Regions from separate parts of the Homo sapiens genome. Here region 2 is linked to region 1. The links are contacts of gene promoters, found by promoter capture Hi-C in human tissues and cell types (Jung and others, 2019). All regions are on one chromosome and are shown on one strand. The core of a region is centred on a gene start or on the middle of the fragment in contact, and the rest is flanking DNA. Distances in the headings are between cores, read along the strand shown. Region 1 holds the start of SBK2 (SH3 domain binding kinase family member 2). Region 2 holds the start of PPP6R1 (protein phosphatase 6 regulatory subunit 1).

Evidence for each region. Contacts are between HindIII fragments. The study calls those that stand out against the background at their distance.
Region 2: a contact is called between the fragment with the promoter of PPP6R1 here and the fragment with the promoter of SBK2 in region 1, in 2 of the 25 tissues and cell types used here (adrenal gland and aorta).

The regions. Positions count from the first base shown.
Region 1 is chr19:55,535,286-55,538,676 of GRCh38, forward strand. It overlaps SBK2 (SH3 domain binding kinase family member 2), which reads right to left and starts at 1,848. Exons shown (of 4, transcript NM_001370096.2): 1 at 1,769-1,848; 2 at 757-1,011. The coding sequence starts at 1,009. RefSeq lists a silencer at 2,457-2,751. The HindIII fragment of the contact is 44,152 bases long and covers 1-3,391 here.
Region 2 is chr19:55,256,874-55,260,559 of GRCh38, forward strand. PPP6R1 (protein phosphatase 6 regulatory subunit 1) reads right to left here and starts at 2,144. Exons shown (of 24, transcript NM_014931.4): 1 at 1,562-2,144. RefSeq lists silencers at 224-417, 1,602-1,661, 1,832-1,931, 2,062-2,341, 2,248-2,542 and enhancers at 1,392-2,366, 2,372-2,571, 2,602-2,651, 2,732-2,781. The HindIII fragment of the contact is 34,304 bases long and covers 1-3,686 here.

The sequences.
Region 1 (3,391 bases), core at 598-3,097:
TGGCAGAAAGGCCCAGGGTAGTGGGGAGCTGTCCTGCGCACCCACTGTGTGCCGGCCTTGCTAAGTGCTTAGCAGACAGCATCACTCTGCATCATCCCACGGTGACCACTACAGCCGCCACAGGAGGCTCCTGAGCTGGGAGCTCTGTCTTACCCAGCATTATACAACCCCAGCAACTAGAGCAGTCCACATTCACTCAGAGGATCCACCATTCTTCCAAGTAGAAATCATCACCCACATTTTCCAAAGGAGGAAGCTGAGACTCAGAGAGGGCAAGGGAGTTCCTCAAAACACAGTTTTTGGCAGGGCACCGTGGCTCATGCCTGTAATCCCAGCAATTGGGAGGCTGAGGCAGGCGGATCACTGGAGGCCAGGAGTACGAGACCACCCTGGCCAACAGAGTGAAACCTCATCTCTACTAAGAAAGAAAAATACACACACACACAAATGTAGCTGGGTGTGGTAGTGCATGCCTATAGTCCTAGCTACATGGGAGGCTGAGGCAGGAGGAACACTTGAACCTGGGAGGTGGAAGTTGCAGTGAGATTGTGCCACTGCACTCCAGCCTGGGCGGCAGAGCCAGACTGTCTCAAAAACAACCAACCAACCAAAAGAACAAAAAACAAAAAACACACAGCTTTGGAGGGCAGAGGTAAGACTTGATTCAGGCCTGCCAGCCTCCCCAGCCTGGGCTACCCCAGGCCCGTGCCCCGCCCCCAGCTGAACCCTGCCACCTCTGGCCCCACAGCCTCGTACCTTTCTGACGATGGGTGACCAGAAGGACGCGGCCATAGCAACCCTGGCCCAGGGGACGCACTTCCTCGTAGAGCTCGTCCACCTCGGCTCGGACCAGGGTCTGAGCACTCAGCGTCATCATGTCCTCCAGCGCGCGGGCAGCCTCCTGGCCCTGCTGGAGCTCCTCTAATGTCAGGCCGCCCAGACCCTCCTCCTCGCTGTCCTCCGAAGCCCCTGCCTCCGCCGGCCCTTCCTCAGACTGTTTGCCGGGCATCTCTGCGAGAACAGAGAGGGGTGCCCAGGCTCAGGTCCCAGGCCCAAGGGAGGAGGGGACTGGGGGTCTGGACTCCTGGGTCTGAGGGAGGAGGGGCTGGGGGCTCATCGCGCTTCTCATTGTGACTCAGTCTCCCTCTTGGTGAGAGGTGGGGAGACAAGTCTGGTGTGAGTTCAAGCCCCAGGTCACAGATGTCCCTGCCCGCGTGCCGCCGCCGCCACCCGCCCACCCTGAGGTTGAAAGATGAACCAGATAACTGAGACTCCCCCATCTTGTTTCCAAAGCAAACAGACTTGGGCCCTGGGGGTGGATGAGTAGACTCTGTCTCCTGAGAACAAACAGGTGCTCTTGGGCTCAGGGCTGGGAGGGCGGGCTGTGCAGAGGGCCTGGGACGCCTGGGTCCTGCATGGGACCGAGCACTTGGGATCAGTCCCCAAGCTCCTGACAGGCCTGGGGTCCCACTTTCACAGCCCACCCACCTCCCTCCGACCCAGCCCCCCAGCCCCTCCTCCGCCAGGCCCAGGGGTCCAGGCCCCCAGCCCACCTCTCTCCCGGAACCTCATACAATTCACACAACTGGGGACCCCCTGATTCTGTTTCCCTCACCCTCCACCGCTCTACAGCCTCCAGGTGCAGCCCAGGCTCCCCTGAGGGACCGAGGACTCGGGCCACCTGGTACAGTCACCCTCAGGTGCTGCCCACCTCAGGCCAGGGCACCTTGCCCACCTCCCAACCTGGGCTCAGACCTCCAGACCTCACCTCCTCCAAGGCCCTCCTGACCCTCCGGCCGCCGGCTGTGGTCAGTGCCCGGCACTTAGGGCTCATGCCAGCAGAGGCCTGCCTAGGAGCAAGACCCCGCCCCGACTTTGGGGGTCGTAAGGCCCCGCCCCTGGGCCCGCCCCTTCTGCCCCCACTGGGAGCAGAGCGACATCGTGTGATGACTCCTGGAACTGGCTGTGGTCAGGTGAATACCCTGACCCAAGAGTTGAGCCCTCCTCCTTCAGACCCAGGAGTCCAGGCCCCAGCCCCTCCTCCTCCCTCAGACTCAGGAGTCCAGGCCCCCAGCGCCTCCTCCCTCAGACCCAGGAATCCAGTCTCCCAGTGCCTCCTCCCTCAGACCCAGGAGTCCAGGCCCCAGCCCCTCCTCCCTCAGACCCAGGAGTCCAGGCCCCCAGCTCTTCTTCCCTCAGACCCAGGAATCCAGGCCCCCAGCTTTCCCTCCCTCAGACCCAGGAATCCAGTCCCCCAGTGCCTCCTCCCTCAGACCCAGGAGTCTAGACCCCAGCCCCTCCTCCCTCAGACCCAGGAGTCTAGGTCTCCAGCCCCTCCTCCCTCAGACCCAGGAATTCAGGTCTCCAGCCCCTCCTCCCTCAGACCTAGGAGTCCAGACCCCCAGCCCCTCCTCCCTCAGACCCAGGAGTCCAGGCCCCAGCCCCTCCTCCCTCAGACCCAGGAGTCCAGGCCCCAGTCCCTCCTCCCTCAGACCCAGGAGTCCAGGCCTCAGCCTCCCCCACCCATCTGAAGTTTTCCGGCAGAACTGAGGCCTCCCCACCCCCTCAAGGCCTCTCTTCCCAGTTGCTCCAGCACCTGCTTCCCGCCCCTCTGAGTCTGAGGTCATCCCACACTGCATCGTTCTGGAATCTCATTGTCTCATTCTTTCCCCAAACTAGACCCCAGCATCTGATCCCCTGGACACCCCTCTCCAAGCACTTGTGTCTGACCTGTCAATGGGGCATTGATGGGGCAGCTGGGTGGGGTCAAGGCAGGGGTGGGTTCCAGAAATGATTTCATTTTCTACACGGGACCCGGACTCCTGGGCCTGATGGAGGAGGGGGTTGAGGACCTGGACTCCTAGGTCTGAGGGAGGAGGGGGTTGAGGACCCGGACTCCTGGGCCTGAGGGTGGAGGGGGTTGAGGACCTGGACTCCTGGGCCTGAGGGAGGAGGGGGTTGAGGACCTGGACTCCTGGGTCTGAGGGAGGAGGGCCTGAGGGCTCCTGATTCCAAAGAGAGGAATAACAATAAAAATAGTTTGAAAGCGCATAACAGGAATACAGGCCAGTGAGTGCCTCCCTGCTGTAAGCACAGGGAGATTAAGCCCCACTAGGAAGTCCCCAAGCCTTGGGCCACAGTGGGACTTCAGACCCCTGTTTTTTTCTGGGACGGTTGCACCCACCCTTCAGGGTTTTTTATTTCTTTTTTTTTTTTTTTTTTTTGCTTTTTGAGACGGAATCTCGCTCTGTCACCCAGACTGGAGTGCAGTGACGTGATCTCGGCTCACTGCAACCTCCAACTCTCTGGTTCGAGTGATTCTCTTGCCTCAGCCTCCCGAGTAGCTGGAATTACGGGCATTTGCCACCACGCCTGGCTAATTTTTGTATGT
Region 2 (3,686 bases), core at 894-3,393, 280 kb before region 1:
GCCACAGGCTTCTACAAACCCTGCACTTAATCCCTAGATCCACCCTCTGAGGAGAGCAGTCTGCTATCCCCACTTACAGACGAGGAACAACTTGTCCAAGGTCTCGCTTGGCAGAAGCCGGACTCGGCCTAGGTCTGTCTGGCAAAAGATCCTCTAACAATTAGCTGGACTGCCTTCTCATGATCCCAATCCCAGAACTAGAGTTAAAAAAAAAAAAAAAAAAAAAGCATAACATTTTCAACAGCACAAGCAGCTCCAACAGCCATCCCACCACTAGTAAGCACACGTGGCCGGGCGCCGTGTCTCCATGTGTGTTGTGCATGTATGTAAACCAAGTCCTCATCCTGTGTTATCCAGGCAATCTCGAGTCCTTGCTGCATTTGCAGCGCACGCTAACAGTTAGACCCTCGCCCTTGGGCTGGATGAAATCCCACTGCAGTTTCTCTACAACTGTGAACCCAGTACCGCACCTGACAGTCTACGCAGCTTCCTTTCCTGAAACATCTTGCCTTTCAGGCGGGTGTCTATGGTCATGTCTGTGTGTACTACGAGCGAGCAAGAAAGACCCCAACCAGAGGTCCCATTCGAGGCCTGGATAAGCACGCCGGGCGGAACTACTCTGCCCCTCACCCTCCCAATACATCTGCACTCAGGACTCCGACCTTCCTTCCTTGACATATCTGCACGTGCTGCTCCTTCCCCCCCCGGAAGGCCCTTCTTCCCACTCTCCATCTGTCACCTCCTACTCATCCTTCCTAGACAGAAAAAGCCGTCCGTCCAGTCAGTCTCACCAGTGCCTCCCGCTCTGTGGCCCCCTGCAGCTCCCTAAGTCACCTCGATCACGACACGCAGGAATTGTGACTGTCCGGCTCTGCCTTTGTACCCCCTCCAGGGACCGGCCCCACCTCCAGGGCAGGGCCTAGGGCTGATGCCCCCTCCTCGGTGCCCAGCGCCAGGCTCCCTGCCTGCCCTCAGCAGGCTTCATCTCACTGAAGCAGGCCCGAGTGGTGGCTGCTCCAGAGAAGCCCCGCTCCCAGGTCCCTCGCACAAGAAGCCGGAGGCGGGAGAGGGTCGGTCAAGGTGAAAACAAGCCCCGCTCCTCCAGTCCTGAGCTCCGGGGATCTAAGGAGGCTGCGCCACGGAAGAGGTGGCGGGGCAGAGATCGGGGCGAGAGGGAAGGGTGTAAGCAGGCAAAGTCCAGGGTAACCAGGGAGAAAGACTCCTGGGGGGCCGGGGAACCGGCCAGAGAGGCAAGAGAGCGGAGCTGAGGCTCAGGGACTGGGGAGCGCAGCTGCAGAGAGCGAGTGGGAAAAGGCCGAGAGCAAGAGACTGAGACTAGGGTGGCGGCGGAGCTGAGGTGAAGAGATTAAGAGACTGGGGAGGGTCGAGGGGGAAGAAACGGGGTGCCGTGGAGAGGAAACCCGAAGGAAGGAGGGAAAGGATCCGAAGCAGAAAAGACCCGCGGGGGTCCCGAGAGGGAAAAGCCTGAGGGGACGCGGAGAGGGGAAGACGTGGGCGCCTGGCCCTGGAGAGAGAGGGTCGGGCGACGCGGGCCGCTCACCTGCGAGGGGGGGCGGCGGCTCCTCGCACTCGGGGCTCATCGGGGCGCCCCCCCCCGCCCCGCCGCCGGCGGCTCCGGCCCCTGCTGCGGGGCCCGGTGAGTGGGGGCGGGGGCGGCGTCGGGGACTCGCGCAGGCGCCGGGGCTCGCGGGGTCCGCGCAGGCGCCCGCGGGTCGTGGGGTCCTCGCGCGCCGGGTCCTGCAGAGTTGAGGGGGTCAGCGCCGGGTGGAGTTGCCGACGGGCGGGGGGCGTCACTAGTCCGCGTAGGCACCTCCGGGGTCCGCAGGCGAGGTGGGCGTGCGGGCCGAGGCGGGTTGGCGAGCCGGGTCGCGAGGCCCACGCAGGCGCCTCAGCCGGGAAGACGGGGGAAGTTGCCCCGGTTTCCACAGTCCAACCGAGCGCCCCACGGGAGGGGAAGGCGACCTCCTCCGCGGTCCAAACGGGCCGCAGAGCCGAGCAGCGACCGACGGAAGCCGAGGCCTACTTCCTTAACCACCCCTTCCCCAAAGCCGCTCAATCTCCGGGCTCTGCGGCCGGCCTCAGGGCCTCCGACGCCCGGCTCCCTCCGCCACTATCCCACAATCCCCCTAGCGCAGGACGACGCAGGAGGCCCCGCCCTCCCGCGGCTGTGTTGGTGCGCAGGTGCGGGGGGCGGGGTGCACGCCTGGGCGGTGCAGTGCGCGTGCGCCCGGGCGCTCCCGACACCGCCCACTCTTGAACCCCGCCGCCGCAGACGCGCTTGCGCCCGTTGGTGCCAACGGTCTGCCCCGGAATAAACCCAGACAGCTCAGTGAGCCGCAGCTGCGCACCGGCTCCGTTCCAAGGCCCCGTGAATATTCCGCTCCAGGATTTCCCTTCCCACTCGCTCCGTTTGGAAATCCGTTCGCTGTTCTGTCTCCTCTAATCATAGTGGAGCTTTGGCTCCAGGGTCGGGCTCTTGCGAAATCCAGACCTGGTTTTCGCTCCAGCCAAAGCCAGGCGCCTTCGTTCCGTCCGGCTCTCGCGCTTAGCCGCCTCCGAGCCTCAGAGGCCCTCAGTCGTTTCCGTCTGCTGGCGATAGTCCCGGCCGGGTCGCTGGTGTTGCCAGTTCCGCCCAAAGCAGCTTCTAATAGCATCAACTGAAAGAGACCTCCTAGACCTTGTGTCTAGATTGATGAAGGTCCCTCTGGCTTTGAGCCTCGGTTTCCCCAACTTTAATAGCTCCCCTCTCTACCCATGTTAGAGGCCTACTGTAAAAATCGTGTGGGCGCGAGGAACTTTTTTGTTTTTGTTTTTGTTTTAAGACTCCGAATTGGCCGGGCGCGGTGGCTTACGCTTGTAATCACAACACTTTAGGAGGCCCGAGGCCGGAGGATGGCATGAGACCAGGAGTTGGAGACCAGCCTGGGCAACCTAGGGAGACCCCCGTCTCTACAAAAGAAAATTTAAAAAATTAGTTGGGCCTGGTGGCCCGCGCCTGTGGTCTCAGCTATTCGGGAGGCTAAGGCAGGAGAATCGCTTGAGCCGAGGCTGCAGTGAGCCGGATTGCACCACTGCACTCCATCCTAGGAGACAGAGCGAGAACCTGTCTCAAAAACAAAGGGCCCAGCGTGGTGGCTCACGCCTGCCTGTACTTGAGCTCAGGAGTTCAAGACCCCACGCCTATAATCCCAGCACTTTGGGAGGCCGAGGTGGGCGGATTGCCTGAGCTCAGGAGTTTGAGACCAGCCTGGGCAACACAGTGAAACCACGTGTCTACTAAAATACAAAAAATAGCCGGACGTGGCGGTGTGCGCCTGTAATCCCAGCTACTCAGGAGGCTGAGGCAGGAGAATTACTTGAACCCGGGAGGTGGATGTTGCAGTGAGCCCAGATCAGGCCACTGCACTCCAGCCTGGGTGACAGAGCGAGACTCCGTCTCGAGAAAAAAAAAAAAAAAAAAAAAGAGCAAATTCACCCCTCCTTTGCCCTCTTTGTTCTATTGAGACCCTCAATGGATTGGATAATGCCAGCTCACACTGGGGAGGGAAGATCTTTATTCAGTCTACCGATTCAAATGCTAGTCTCTTCCAGAAATACCCTCATAGACACACCCATAATGTTTTACCAGCTATCTGGACATCCCTTAGCCCAGTCAACACCTGAAA